5 separate regions of the Homo sapiens genome follow, and regions 2, 3, 4 and 5 are each linked to region 1. Evidence: promoter capture Hi-C in human tissues and cell types (Jung and others, 2019). All regions are on one chromosome and are shown on one strand. The core of a region is centred on a gene start or on the middle of the fragment in contact, and the rest is flanking DNA. Distances in the headings are between cores, read along the strand shown.

What was found. The method cuts DNA at HindIII sites, captures the fragments that hold promoters and counts their contacts. A contact is called where the count stands out against the background at its distance.
Region 2: a fragment that was not itself captured here is called in contact with the fragment with the promoter of ELAVL3 in region 1 in 1 of the 25 tissues and cell types used here (pancreas).
Region 3: the fragment with the promoter of TNPO2 here is called in contact with the fragment with the promoter of ELAVL3 in region 1 in 1 of the 25 tissues and cell types used here (dorsolateral prefrontal cortex).
Region 4: a contact is called between the fragment with the promoter of FBXW9 here and the fragment with the promoter of ELAVL3 in region 1, in 2 of the 25 tissues and cell types used here (IMR-90 fibroblasts and dorsolateral prefrontal cortex).
Region 5: a contact is called between a fragment that was not itself captured here and the fragment with the promoter of ELAVL3 in region 1, in 1 of the 25 tissues and cell types used here (dorsolateral prefrontal cortex).

Annotation. Positions count from the first base shown.
Region 1 is chr19:11,479,603-11,482,529 of GRCh38, forward strand. ELAVL3 (ELAV like RNA binding protein 3) reads right to left here and starts at 1,444. Exons shown (of 7, transcript NM_001420.4): 1 at 998-1,444. The coding sequence starts at 1,006. RefSeq lists silencers at 1-156, 2,531-2,780, 2,811-2,927. The HindIII fragment of the contact is 31,814 bases long and covers 1-2,927 here.
Region 2 is chr19:10,199,579-10,202,505 of GRCh38, forward strand. No RefSeq gene overlaps it. Among named protein-coding and RNA genes, the nearest start is that of DNMT1, 6.1 kb to the left of the region's middle. RefSeq lists an enhancer at 584-1,084. The HindIII fragment of the contact is 3,674 bases long and covers 1-2,927 here.
Region 3 is chr19:12,722,460-12,725,386 of GRCh38, forward strand. TNPO2 (transportin 2) reads right to left here and starts at 1,473. Exons shown (of 26, transcript NM_001382241.1): 1 at 1,310-1,473; 2 at 790-906. RefSeq lists enhancers at 1-6, 7-624, 423-572, 625-1,243, 1,244-1,860. The HindIII fragment of the contact is 34,827 bases long and covers 1-2,927 here.
Region 4 is chr19:12,695,074-12,698,000 of GRCh38, forward strand. It overlaps FBXW9 (F-box and WD repeat domain containing 9), which reads right to left and starts at 1,558. Exons shown (of 10, transcript NM_032301.3): 1 at 1,100-1,558. The coding sequence starts at 1,508. RefSeq lists enhancers at 1,468-1,517, 1,828-1,887. The HindIII fragment of the contact is 8,232 bases long and covers 1-2,927 here.
Region 5 is chr19:12,496,345-12,499,271 of GRCh38, forward strand. No RefSeq gene overlaps it. Among named protein-coding and RNA genes, the nearest start is that of ZNF709, 13 kb to the left of the region's middle. The HindIII fragment of the contact is 4,297 bases long and covers 1-2,927 here.

The sequences.
Region 1 (2,927 bases), core at 194-2,693:
CGAGTGGGAATCCGAGGGCTCGGGCGAGGCCGGGCCCCCGGGGCCCTGGGGGCGGGGCCTAGATGGGCGTGCCCGGGCGTGGCCAGGCAGGGCGTGGCAGGGCGGGAGGGGCTGCGCGCTCGGGAGCTGACCAGCTCCGTGGCTGCTGAAAGCACCGAGCGCGGGGCTAGCGGTGCGGGCGAGCAGGCGGGCGGGCCGCGCTCAAGGTCACCTCGCGGCCCAGAGCCTTGGCGAGGTGGGGAGCCTGGACCTGGCCTAAGGGGGCTGTCTCGGCCTCCCACCCCATCTCCCGGGGGGCGGAGACCCGGGAGCCCAGAGGTGCCCCCCCAACCCGCGGGCCCTCCTCTCCCCTCCCCCTCCCCGCAGCCCGAGGCGCCCGCGCGAGGCTGCGGCCCGCGAAGAAGCGCCGAGAAACAAAGGGACGCGGCAGCAGCGGCGGCGGGCCCGCGGGGCCTCCGGGCGCGCCCCCTCCTCTCCCCTCCCCGCTTGCCGCAAGGTCGACGGGCTCGAGGACGAGACGCCCGCCTCCCGGGTGCGGCCGAGGCCCGGGGCGCGCGATCCGACGCCACCCGCTTTCCCAGGGCTCTCGGGGACGCTTTGTCGCTTTGGCTTGGCCCAGCACCAGTGATCGGGCCCTGCGTTTGCCTGGGCGGCCTGCGGGGTCTGGGCCTGGATGGAGGAAGCATCCTTAGCCGCCGCGGCCCCTCCCCCATCAGGCCTGCTGGAGAGGGGGCAATCCCGCCTCCAGGGCGGCGTCGGACGCCTCCCGAATCGCAGTCAGTCTCCCTAAGGCCCTCTCAGACCAAGCTCTAAGCGCCCTCAGCACTCTGGGCGCGGCCCTGCCCACTCTCAGGCCCCGAGGCTTGGTCCTACCCCCCCAACCCGGGCCTAGCTAGGCCTGGTCCTACCCCCCCCGCCGCACCCGCCCAATCTCCGCGGAGCCTGGGCCCAACTCCTCCCCGTCCCGATTCCCTTTCGGCGACAGGGGAATACCTACAGTGACCATTCTTGTGTGCCCGGCGGGCGCGGTCCGTGTTGAGGGGGGCTCCGGGGGTGGTGCACTCCTAGGGGGGCGCCCGATGCTCACGCTGGGGTCCCGCCCGGGCGGCCTCTGGTGCGGCCGCTGCAGATGTGGCGATGAAGGCGGCGGCTCCCTCGAGGGCCAGGGACGGGCCCGAACCCGGGGATGCGCGCGCGGATGGCCGGGCCCCGGGGTGGCCTGCGGGCGGCAGGGGATGGAAAGAGGGAGCGGGCGCGGGGTTGAGGACGCCCCCTGCGCGGCCCCGCGGGGCCCGGGGAGGTTGCGCTTCCCGACAGAGATCGCGGCGCTCTGCCTTTCGCCGCCGCCCCTCGGTCGGTCCTGTCCGGTCCCGTGTGTTCAAGTCCTCTCCCCTCGCCCACCCTCCCTCCCTCCCTCCGGCCCGCGCTGCGCGCTCCGCGCTCTGGACCGCGCCGCCGCCGCCCCCAGCCCTTTATAGCAGCAGCTGCCAGCGCCGGCGTCGCTCATTGGCTGCGGCGACCGAGCTCCGCCTCCTCGCGGCTCCCGACGGCGCGGCAGGTGGAAGTGAGCGCGCACTGGTCGGGACTCTGAATCCCCCAAAAGCGCATCCTAGGTGCTCGGGTTGCCAGATTTGGGCCCTCCTTCCCTCGAGGCCCTTGCTTCCTACCCTGGCACCCCTTCTTGGGCTGGCTTTCGGGCCAGGAGACGGGCTCCCCTCCTCCGTCCAGCTCCTAGAGCTGGAGGAGCCAACAGAGCGAGGAGGTATTAGTGGCCTGAATATGCGACCTTCCAGAGGTGTTGTCCACTGAGGGAACTGGACAGGGGATCAGGAACCAATATTTTAGTAGGCAGAGGCCTGGGTCCCCAGATTTGGAGGCACCAGTGTAGACCACCTCAAGACCACGGGGGAGGGTGGCTACTGTGGCCCTAGTCTTCTGCAGAAGGAGACTGGGACGCTGTTGGTTTTGAGTGAGCTGGATCCTTCTAGGGTTCAAAAGGTAAGGACTGGCACTCCCCAGTGCAAGGAAACTCCGCACTGCTCCGAAGGGGGTGAAAAGGTTTGGGGCTCAGTGTTCTGGACAATCATCGCTGGAGCCATGCAGCTCTGGGAAACCACGGATCCTTCTTGGACCCCACAGAACTGGGGTGGGTGGATCTGCCACATAAATGTCCTGGCTTTCTAGGCTCGTGATTGGTCCTCCTGACTGTGGAGTCATGCTCGCTCTCTGCTAGGGGGAACCTGGCCTCTCTCTAAGGCGTTGGGGGTGGCGCAGCCTCCTTTGGTGCGCGGGCGCCGGTGCATGTTTACGTCGGGGCGCGGGAACTAGCACACACTGGGGCGGGGTCGCCAGGGCGTGAGGCTTCAGCACCACAGACAGCAATCCGACAGTCCGGTCGAGGGCGCTGCCGGCGAGGTAGCCCAGACCCCCTAACTGGAGAGCGGCAGTCCCCACCCAATCCTCGTTCCTGCACGCCCTTTAGGCTCCAGACTGTCAGAGAGCGCCACCAGCGAGGAGAGCCTAATTTGCCCAATCAGGGGCGGCCCTTGAGATAACCAGTTACTGGAAGATGCCCTAGAGATCGAGCCAATGGGAGTGCGCGCACCAGGGGATGCTGCCACGCCTGGAAAGGGCAGGCCAATCGCAGTGGCCCGCGCAATAGGGGCGGTGGCGGTGCAGATCCCCGGGTGGCCCCTCTTGGGCTCGCCGGGGCGACCTGGCTGCGGGCGCTAGGGGCCCCAAGCGATGGTCTGTTCCCCACCCCGTGTTCCTCCCGGTTTCCGTCATCGGAAACTGAGCTAGGAGGGGGGCTGCTCCTGGGCGCGCGGACCCCGCTGCGGTTCCCATGGAAACCTGCCGGCTCCGGCAGTGCGGGGAGAGTGGAGGGGACCTGCCTCGCGGGGGGAGGGAGCTCGCGGGGGCGGCCC
Region 2 (2,927 bases), core at 118-2,617, 1.3 Mb before region 1:
TTGCAAAATATTTGTATTATAAAATTCACAAGTGAATGTGTTTATATGCATGTACATATACATGCACACACAGTTCCCCCAACAGCTGGTAGGGAAGGGTCATCCTGGCCAGAAGTGAACCTTCACACAGACCCTCCATTTGCTATGAATTGCTCACACTTGGCAGGACCCAGGAAGACTGAATAATAAGACTAAAATTCCCAGCGATTAATATTGAATCAGCACTTACGTAGTCTACCAGGCTCTTTAGATAACTTTTTCTTTTTCAATTTTTTTTTTTTAATAGAGACAGGGTCTTACTATGTTGCCCAGGCTGGTCTTGAACTCTTGAGCTCAAGCAATTACAGGCATGAGCCACTGTGCCTGGGGCTTTTTGTTTTTGTTGTTTGTTTTTTGTTTTTGAGACTGAGTCTCGCTCTGTAGCCCAGGTTGGAGTGCAGTGGTGCGATCTCGGCTGACTGCAAGCTCCGCCTCCCGGGTTCACGCAATTCTCCTGCCTCAGTCTCCTGAGTAGCTGGGATTACAGGTGCCCGCCACCAAGCCCAGCTAATTTTTTGTTTATTTTTAGTAGAGACGAGGTTTCACTATGTTGGCCAGACTGGCGTCTAACTCCTGACCTCGTGATCTGCCTGCCTCGGCCTCCCAAATTGCTGGGATTACAGGCGTGAGCCACCGCGCCTGGCTGTTTTGTTTTGTTTTGTTTTTTGAGACAGGGTTTCACTCCCGTCTCTCAGGCTGGAATGGAATGGTGTGCAATCTCGGCTCACTGCAACCTCCACCTTCCAGGCTCAAGCAATTATCTTGCCTCGGCCTCCCGAGTGGCTAGGAATACAGGCATGCGCCAGCACGCCTGGTTAATTTTTGTAGAGACAAGGTTTTGCCGTGTTGCCCAGGCTGGTCTCAAACTCCTGAACTCAAGTGATCCTCCTGCCTCAGCCTCCCAAAGTGCTATAATTACAGGCTTGAGCTACTGTGCCCAGCCTTCTTCTATTTTGAGACAGGGTCTCACTCTGTCACCCAGGCTGGAATGCAGTGGCACGATCACCATTCACTGTAACCTCAGCCTCCCAAGCTCAAGCAATCCTCCCATCTCAGCCTCCCAAGTAGCTGGGACCCACAGGCACACACCACCAGGCTTGACTAATTTTTTATATATTTTTGTAGAGACAGGGTGTCCCATGTTGCCCAGCCTGGGAATTATTTAATTTAATCCTTAACCATAAAAGGTAGGTAGCAGGACCCTGTTTGCCATGGCCTGAAATATTCATCACATAGGACTCTCAGAGGCCACTTACCCAAGATCATAGACTCACTCAGCAGTACGGACCATGAATCCAGCTGTCTTTCATCCAGAACCTGAGGGCAAAACAGTGGCCCCAGGGATGGCCAGTTGTCCAGGCCATGGGAGACCAAAGGGATAGCACTTGAAGGAAGCTGGACTAGGGTAGGAACAGAAAGGGAATGACAGAAGACAGTCTCACCAGAGTGAACCTTAGGCCCATAAACCTGTCAGAACCCATGATCAGGGCCCCTAACCCACCTTAGAGCCAGGGGAGGAAATAAGAAGAGGGGACAGATGAACAGACCTCCTACTCAGGGACTTCAACGCAAGGAGACCAGCTGCATTTATTGGAGACTTCCTCTAAGCTAGATTTCCTTTGTAACAGCATTGTCAACCTTGTCAGGAAGAGATAGCTTGACCCATCTTCCAGATATGGGGAAAAAACTCAGATATGGAAACGATTTGCCTTAAGGGTACCCTGCAAGTTGGAATTTGCTTCCAAGTTGTCTGGGCAAAAAATCCAGGCATCTCCTTTCATGCCTCTCCTTGCCTCACATGCAAAACATGAGCAAGCTCTGCTGGTTCTTCCTCTAAAATATAAGCCAAGTCTTTCTACTTATCCACGCTCCTGCTACCCCAGCCCAAACTGCCATCATCACTCACCTGGACTTCATTCTAGAAGCCTCCTCCCTGACCTCCCAGCTGCCCTGGAGAGTCCCTTCCAAACGCTTCGGCTAGAAAGCTTTATTTTATTTATTTATTTATTTATTTATTTATTTAGAGACAGAGTCTTACTCTGTCACCCAGGCTGGAGTGCAGTGGCACAATCTCAGCCCACTGCAACCTCTGCCTCCCGGATTCAAGCAGTTCACCTGCCTCAGCCTCCCAAGTAGCTGGAATTACAGGCACTTGCCACCATGCCCGGCTAATTTTTGTATTTTTAGTAAATACAAGGCTTCACCATGTTAGCCAGGCCAACTCCTGACCTGTGATACACCCACCTCGGCCTCTCAAAGTGCTGGGATCACAGGTGTAAGCCACCGCACCAGGCCTTTTTTTTTTTTTTTTTTTTTTTTTTTGAGATAGAGTCTCACTCTGATGCCCAGGCTGGAGTGCAATGGTGTGATCTTGGCTCACTGCTACCTCCATCTCCCAGGTTCAAGCAATTCTCTTGCCTTAGCCTTCCAAGTAGCTGGGACTACAGGAACGAGCCACCATGTCCAGCTAATTTTTTGTATTTTTAGTAGAGATGGGGTTTCACCATGTTGGCCAGGCTGGTCTCAAACACCTGACCTCAAGTGATCCACTCGCCTCAGCCTCCCAAAGTACTGGGATTATAGGTGTGAGCTACGTGTCCGGCCTTTTTTTAAACAACAACAACAGCAACCCAGCTAGGGTCTCACTGTCACCACAGGCTGGAGTACAGTGACATGATCATAGCTCACTACAGCCTCAAACTCCTGGGCTCAAGCAATCCTCCTACCTTAGCCTCCCAAAGCACTGGGATTACAGGCACGAGCCACTGCACCTGGCCCTGAGAAATGTTTACAAAAATAAATTGGAACATGCCATCCCCTTCTTCACCACTAAAACCTTCCAGAACTTCCCATTGTTCTTGAAATAAAATCTAAGCATTTTACTATTT
Region 3 (2,927 bases), core at 223-2,722, 1.2 Mb after region 1:
GAGTGAGGCCCACTTACCCGGCCCCGGGCAGCAGCGGCGGCAACTCGCGCTGCGGCTTCTCCAGAGACTCGCGCGGAAGGAGGGAGCCAAAGAGAGAGAATTAAAAAAAAAAAAAAAAAAAAAAAAGAAAGAAAGAAAAAAAAAAAAGAAAAACGCGGCCGTAGGTGAGCCGCCGCGGCTCCCGTACTCCGTTCAAACTGGTCCCGCCGAGCCAATCGGAAGGTTCAACCTTCACACGTGCCCTGGCACTTGGGAAACCCGGGCTGAGACAAGGTCCGGTCACGTGACCAAAGAGTTGCCGTTTCTTTGGCCTCTCTAGCCAGCCGGTCCTCCCAGTGTCTCGTTTTCCCAGCATCTTTCACTGACCTGACCGCAAGCTCTTTAGCTGGAGCCAGGAGTTTGGTAGCGCGTGGGGACTTTGTGTGTGATGGATCCAGGAACCCCTCGGCCAGAGCCAGCACCCTCCTTGTCACCTTCCTCCACTAAAAATTGAAATGTGCCTCCCTTCCCCCATCCAGAGGTACTTGGGAGGAGTACGCTGTGTGTGCGCAAGGAAAGAGCTGAGCGTGCTCTTTATACCCCAGAGACAAAGGAAAGAAAGCAGGACAAAGTAAGTGCCTGAGACAAGCCGGGTTCCTACAGAAGCCTCTGCCACTTTTTGCATTATTTTCCAGTACTGTTTGATAGTTTTTACAAGGAGATGAAAAAGCCACAAGGATATAAATTTTTGAATAAAACGAAATGAACTAATAAAATAAACTTTGAACCACGCCTAATCCCTTTCCCTACCTGAAGTTGAATGAGGTGGAACAGCGCAGGAAATTCTGGCAAGGGCAGGGTCATGAAGAAAGAAATCTTCTTGATCCTTGCGACGTCTGAAGACAGTAGGGCACCGTTTTTCCTTCTCTTGAGAGAGGAGCAGATGGTAAAAAGCTGGAGACCCTGTAGCGTCTTGGTTTCCCCTCCCTGCCCTGCCGATAACAAAGTGGGAGACCTCCTGCCACTTGAAGCCTCAGTTTCCCCACTTGTCAAATGGGTATAAGAGCAGTTCGCGCGATTAGAGATCATCCAAGTTAAGCATGACCTGGCCAGCTCTGAATTGTTCCTTAAAAACGTGGCTTTACCCTCCAAGGCTCAAGGCTGTTCTTTTACTGTATTCAGCCCCTCCCTAAGCCGATATTTAATGAATTCACCAGCTCTAATCCCAAAGAACAACCCACCCTGCCCTGAGGAACTTTTTGACCCTCGAGAGAGGCAGAGGTCAATTTTTGCCCCTGCCTGAAGGAGGGGAACAGCTATCTCAACCCACTTGCCGTAGGCAAAGTCAGTCCCGGCTCCGTTCATTCATGAAAATCAAGTCCCGGGCCTCCAAGGTTAGGGAAGTGTCGGCAGGCGCCTAACTCCACTCGGAGAATCGCGGAAGACACCCTAAAGGAGCAGTTGGGATTCCGAGGTAGCCAGTTCCGCTGGACTGAAACCTGGGCTGAGAAACACGTGCAGAAAGCCGCCACCAAGGCATGCGTAAAGGCCTCCCTCTCCCCCACCCTCCGATAAGCCCTGGAACTACAAATCCCGTCCTGCCATGCGCCAGGGTCGCCGCGCTTTGGGGTTTTGGCTGAGACTCAAATTGGCAGGAGGGTCTCTAGACCAACCGAGGTGCATGGGGAGCAGAAGAGTGAGACTGGGGAGCTGGGGCTGGATTTGGGGGTTCCTGGAGCGAGTGTGAACGATAAGAGCTTTCTGGTCAAATTTGGGGGCTGCCCCAGATAAAGATCAGATGGGGAGCGAGTTTGGGATGCAGGAGACAATTTGTTAAGGTTCACCCCCTTCATATAATATGGCAAATTTTCAGCGGCCCTCCGCAAGCCTTGGGGCAGAACAAAGTAGCCCCTGCTGCATGTGTGGTCCACATTGTTGGCCCTTGTGTGGTCACGGAATTTTTTCTTCCTCTCCAGCTGGTGAATTTGAGTGTTGAATCAGGACAAGGTTTTGGGTTTTTGTTGTTTTGTTGTTTTTGTTTTTCTATTTCTTTGTTTTGTTTTGTTTTGTTTTTGAGACGGAGTCTCGCTCTGTTACAAGGCTGAAGTGCAGTGGCGCGATCTCAGCTCATTGTAACCTCCGCCTCCCGGGTTCAAGCGATTCTCCTGCCTCAGCCTCCCGAGTAGCTGGGATTACAGGCATGCGCCACCACGCCCGGCTAATTTTTTTTAATAGAGATGGGGTTTCACAATGTTGACCAGGATGGTCTTGATTTCTTGACCTCATGATCTGCCTGCCTTGGCCTCCCAAAGTGTTGGGATTACAGGCGTGAGCCACCGCGCCTGGCTTTTTTTGTTTTTTTGTTTTTTGAGATGGTGTCTTGCTCTCATTGTCCCGGCTGAAGTGCAATGGCTCAATCTCGGCTCACTGCAACCTCCGCCCCCGGATTCAAGCGATTCTCCTGCCTCAGCCTTCCGAGTAGCTGGAATTACAGGCGCCTGCCACCACGCCAGGCTAATTTTTTGCATTTTTAATAGAGATGGGGTTTTGCCATGTTGGCCAGGCTGGTCTTGAACTCCTGACCTCAGGTGATCCACCTGCCTCGACCTCCCAAAGTGCTGGGATTACTGTGCCCGGCCCAGTTTTCCTATTTCTTTCTTTCTTTCTTTTTTTTTTTTTTTTTTTTTTTTTTTTTTTTTTTTTGAGACACTGTCTTGCCCTGTCGCCCAGGCTGGAGTGCAATGGTGGGATCTCAGCTCATTGCAACCTCCGCCTCCGGGATTCAAGCTATTCTGCCTCAGCCTCCCGAGTACCTGGGACTACAGGCACCCGCCACCACACCCAGCTAATTTTTGTATTTTTAGTAGAAACAGGGTTTCACCATATTGGCGAGGCTGATCTTGAACTCCTGACCTTGTGATCTGCCCGCCTTGGCCTCCCAAAAAGTG
Region 4 (2,927 bases), core at 308-2,807, 1.2 Mb after region 1:
CCACCCCAAGCCGACCCAGGCTGTGGTCTTGGGACCACCTGCCTGCCCATTTCCCAGGCAGGTCTAGGACTACTCACTCCAATTTCCAGAAATTGGGAACTGGGGTCTCAGAACTACCTCTCCAGGCGCCATCCCCCAACCCAAACTCAGGGCAGAGCAGTCTCAGGATGTTGAGGTCTGACCTCAGGCTCAGCATAGAAGCTGGGACCTCATGACTAACCCTTCCTGCCTCAGCCATCTGAACCAGACCAAGGGGGCTGTTTCTCAAACAGTATCTGGAAACCAGGGAGCCTTGTCAAGATGCAGAATGCAAGCCCCAGATGCAGATTCTGTGATATGGACGGGGTCCAAGCATCTATGTTTATTAAGCTGTTTGGGAGAGTCTGACCTGGGGGTTGGATGGCAACACCTTGAGAATCACTGATCCCGGAGTGATCCTGATTCCTCTCTAAGCAGAATCAAAGCTTCCAGGTTAAGGGTATCAAACACCCAAGCTGTAATACATCTTGGCTTAAGGGCCTGAGGATCCAGCTGTATCAGGATCAACAATATCGATTCAAAGGTCCCAAGCTGTCTTCCCTCAGGAACCAATCAACTCAGGGCCAAGAGCCACTGTCTCACCCCTAACTGGGTCAAGGCTCTAGGGCTCAGGAGTTTTGACATCAACAGGTGCTGTCTCAGCTTCTAAGCTGGACTCAGAACCTGAGGATCCTTGGGCTCACTTTGAGCCCCAGCATAAACTCCAGAGCCTAAGACTTCAAGTCCCTGTGTCAATCCCCAATCAGGGGTCAGTGGCTTAGTACCACAAGACCCCAAGACTGAGGATATTTGGATCCTGAGTCGTCCAGGAACCACAGCCCCATGTTAGGGTTTCACAGCCTCAGGACCCCAAGTGCCTGACTGCCTCGTGGTCCACCCAGAGGTCCTCAGGGGCTTCGGCACCACCAGTAACTACCTTAGCCTCCAGCCTGAGCCAGGACAGCCACGAAGCCTGCACCAGAGGCTGCATCCGGAACACCCCATGTACCTCTTCCCCGCCCCAAGCCTGACCTGGGCGGGCGCCCCCGGCCCCCGGTCCCCGGCCCCCGGCCCCGCGCACCTTCCACCACTGGGTAGGGCGCGCGTACGCGGCGTAGCGCGCGTAGCCTCCAGGTGACATGGTCAGACACGAGGTCGCGGAGCGCGTGGCACACCCGCGACAGGACGTGGAGCACGAGGCGGGCGTCCAGGTAGGAGCAGATCTCGAGCAGCAGCTCCGGGGGAAGGCTCAGAAGGCCCGGCTCACTTACGGCCGAAACCCTGGACGCGGCCCGAGGCTCCGAAGCGCTCGGGGACGCGGCGGGTGTGGATAGCTGCGAGGGGCGCGAGAACGCCAGCCCGGATTTTGGCGGACTGAGAACGCGGGCCACGTAGGCCTTGGCCTGCGCGTCTGGGTCTGTCTCTGACTCTGGGTCCGAGTCATCGTCCCAGGTGCGGGAATCATCGCACCGCCCTAGGGGAAGCTCCATTGCGACCGGGTGGGCGCTGCCGGCCTCGCGTCTTGTCTCCTAGGCAGCACGAGGGCACTTCCGGCGCTGTCTGATGACGTTTATGCGCCCACCGGAAGCGACGAAGTCAGACACTGGCTTAATACAGAACATCGCCCCGCTTACAGGGTCTCTTGCAACTGCGTCGGCCTTAGGCTGGAAAATGCAGGTTCCTGTTTCTGCGCTTTTTAAACTAGCCGATACCGAGAGCCAGCCAACTCTAGCTAAAAACGAAACTCAAGCCAGGCGGGGTGGCGCGCGCCTGTAGTTCCAGATACTCAGGAAGGTGAAGGGGTAGGATCCCTTGAGTCCAGGAGTTCGAGACTGCAGTGAGCCATGGTTGTGCCACTGTACTCCAACCTGCGCAACATAGTGAGACCCTGTCTCTTTAAATTAGACATAAAATAAACACTGCTTTAACGAAGGCATCTGTTATATGTGACACTGAGCTTAGAAACCCAAAGGCCCCTTTCCGAGTTCAAGGAGTAGAGATTGGAACTCTTGCCTCTTTTCCCAGAGCCAGAAATATGCAGTTACACTGCAGAGGCATCAGTTAAGTGACTTTTTTTTTTTTTTTTTTTTTTTTTGAGAAAGGAACTGGGGCCTCAGAACTACCTCTCCAGACCCCATTCCCCAACCCAACCTTGGAGGACAGCAGTTCAGTCCTCCAAGCGGAGTGCTTGGCTCATTGCAACCTCCGCTTTCTGGACTCAAGTGATCCTCCACCTCGGCCCCCCAGGTAGCTGGGACTACAGGCGCGCACCACCACACCCGGCTAATTTTTGTATTCTTTTGTAAAGACAGGGTTTCACTACGTTGTCCAGGCTGGTCTGGAACTCCTGAGCTCAAGCCATCCGCCCCCAACTTGGTCTCCCAAAGTACCAGGATTACAGGCGTGAACCATCGCGCCTGGTGGAAAGCTACCTTTTTCTTTTTTCTGAGACGGAGTCTCACTCTGTCACCCAGGCTGGTGTGCAGTGGCGCGATCTCGGCTGGCTGCAACCTCCGCCTCCCGGGTTCAAGCGATTCTCCTGCCTCAGCCTCTAGAGTAGCTGGGAATACAGGCACGCGCCACCACTCCTGGCTAATTTTTGTATTTTTCAGTAGAGACGGGGTCGCACTATGTTGGCCAGGCTGGTCTCAAACTCCTGACCTCGTGATCCGCCCGCCTCAGCCTCCCGAAGTGATGGGATGACAGGCGTGAGCCACTGCGCCCGGCCTAACATCACACTTACTAAAACAGCATGTTGGCCGGGTGCGGTGGCTCAGGCCTGTAATCCCACCACTTCGAGAGGCAAGGTGGGTTAATCACTTGAGGTCAGGAGTTCAAGACCAGCCTGGCCAACAAGGTGAAACCCCTTCCTACTAAAAATACAAAGAATTGGCCGGGTGTGGTGGCAG
Region 5 (2,927 bases), core at 184-2,683, 1.0 Mb after region 1:
AACTTTTACCAGAAAAGCAACTTTGAAAGTTCCCGTCTTTCAACTGGGCGTGATGGCTCACGCCTGTAATCCCAGCACTTTGGGAGGCCGAGGTGGGTGGATCATTTGAGGTCAGGAGTTCGAGACCAGCCTGGCGAACATGGTGAAACCCTCGTCTCTACTAAAAATACAAAAATTAGCTGCATGATGGCCTGTGCTTGTAGTCCCAGCTACTCAGGGGGCTGAGGTGGGAGGCTCACTTAAGCCCAAGCCCTGGAGGTCGAGGCTGCGGTGAGCTATGATCTCGCCACTGCGCTACAGCCTGGGTGACAGAGGGAGACCCTGTCTCAAAAAAATAAACATCAATAGCGGTTGAAAGCCCCATGACTGGGGAGCAGCAGCCAGAGACTAGTGACTTCAAGCTAAGACCACTCTTGAGCCTGCAAAGGGAGGTCATTGAAAGCCCAGATGGGTCTTCCTGGGGAGCCTTCCCCAAAAGTGTCCTACTTGCTCTCACCCACCAAGGAAAGAGCTCTTTATACAGAGAGAAGCTACAGAGCACTGGAATGCTGGGAACCGCACGCGGTTTTAGGAGAACCGGGAGGGTTTTAATTGTCTAGGTTGTAATTGTAGTTTCCTTGGGTCTACTTTTAGACATTAGGTTTGAGTTTTGCTTTCACATTAGGGTACACTCGTGGTGTAATTTTTCCATATTGAAAAAGTCTGTGAAAGTTACAAGTTCTGTCTCCTGGACATGGTGTTAATGACTTTGGGAGTTCATTTGTGTCAGAACCTTCATCTGAATCCAGCTGACAGTTTCGTCACTTACGAGAACCAGTGGGAAGGGGCATTCTCTGCTCCCGGAGTTCATTCCTGTGGCTGCTCAGGTGTCCCTGCTGTCACCAGGGACTATTCCACTCTAGGGACTATACCCTAACAGGGAGAGAGTGTGGACTCCAAGCTTTGGTATGTGTTTAACCTTCTGGATGTTGGTTTTTCTTCTGAATTGCGGAGAAGCAGGCTGCTTATCTGAGCTGATTCAATGTTTGTGTTTCTTTCCTTTGGATTCCTTTTTCTATTGAATATTGCAGCACTTTAACTCCAGTTTCCTTTAACATTTTGTAATTTTATTCCCTGTATGAGTCTGTAGGATTTTTAGTTTGTTGGTCTTTGAAAATTTAAGTTGATTGAGAAATATGATGTAAGAGAAGCAAATCCTGGAACCAAATAGAATTTTTATTCCTTTCAGGCAAAAGAAGCTCATGGTGTGAGATGGATATGTTTAACTTCTCAGGTGCATTTTTATTTTTACATTAGTTTGTGTGTGTGCATATCCCTAGAAAACTTTCAAACTTCAAAGGCTCTACTATTCCCAGGGCAAATGGATTCCTGTTTTAATTGATACGAGGAAAACTACTCCTCAAAGCTTGTGTAATCTTTGAAAAATTCTACTACATTTAATGGTTATATCCAAACCCTAATGTATTATAATATGCTACTCTTTTTTTGAGACTGAGTCTTGCTCTGTTGCCCAGGCTGGAGTGCAGTGGCGCCATCTCGGCTCACTGCAAGCTCCACCTCCCGGGTTCACGCCATTCTCCTGCCTCAGCCTCCCGAGTAGCTGGGACTACAGGTGCCCATCACCACGCCTGGCTAATTTTTTTGTATTTTTAGTAGAGCTGGGGTTTCACCATGTTAGCCAGGATGGTCTCGATCTCCTGACCTCGCGATCCGCCCGCCTCGGCCTCCCAAAGTGCTGGGATTACAGGCGTGAGCCACCGCGCCCAATCTATAATATGCTACTCTTTCCTGAAAATACCCCTCAGTGTGAGATACAGTGGACAGACATGCTATGATGCAGATTCTCTTAAGATTTGAAATTTTACATTTCGTATAGTTTACACTTTTAAAAGTGTATAAAGGATTAAATCTTAATGAAGACAACTTAAAATTTAAAAAAAACTACATTATTTAAAGACTTTAATAGTAAAATATAGTGCAGATAAATATCTTCGTTCATTTTATTTTTTTATTTTTTATTTTTTTTGAGACGGAGTTTTACTCTTGTTGCCCAGGCTGGAGTGCAATGGCACAATCTTGGCTCACAGCAACCTCCACCTCCCAGGTTCAAGTGATTCTCCTGCCTCAGCCTCCCGAGTAGCTGGGATTACAGGCATGTGCCACCATGCCCAGCTAATCTTTTTGTATTTTTAGTAGAGATGGGGTTTCTCCATGTTGGTCAGGCTGGTCTCGAACTCCTGACCTCAGGTGATCTGCCTGCCTCGGCCTCCCAAAGTGCTGGGATTACAGGCGTGAGCCACCGTGCCCGGCCTTTTTAATGTATATTTTTAGACAGGGTCTTGCTCTGTCACCCAGGATGGAGTACAGTGGCACGATCGATCATAGCTCACTGCAGCCTCAGCCTCCCCTGCTCAAGTGATCCTCCCAACTCAGCCTCCTGAGTAGCTGGAACTACAGGCACATACCACCATGCCTGGCTAATTTTTGTATTTTTTGTAGAGGCAGGGTTTCACCAACCGGCAGGGTTGCCCGGGCTGGTCTTGAACTCTTGAGTTCAAGTGATCCTCCTAGCTCGGCCTCCCAAAGTGCTGGGATTACAAGTGTGAGCCACTGCACCAGGCCTCCATTCATTTTAGAGAGATAATACATGTGAAGGTTAAAAAAAAAAATCTATGAGACAGGAAAATCTAACATAAGACTCACTGTCAAGCATATCCTGGTTCATTCCAGGATTCTTGCTCCAGCCACCCCGCCCTTCGTAAAAACTTTTGGTAATTCCTTGTGCATCCTATTAGTGTTTCTTTATTAAAACAAGCAATTGCAGGCCAGGCGCGGTGGCTCACACCTGTATTCCCAGCACTTTGGGAGGCCGAGGCAGGCGGATTACCTGAGGTCTGGAGTTCGAGACCAGCCTGACCAACATGGAG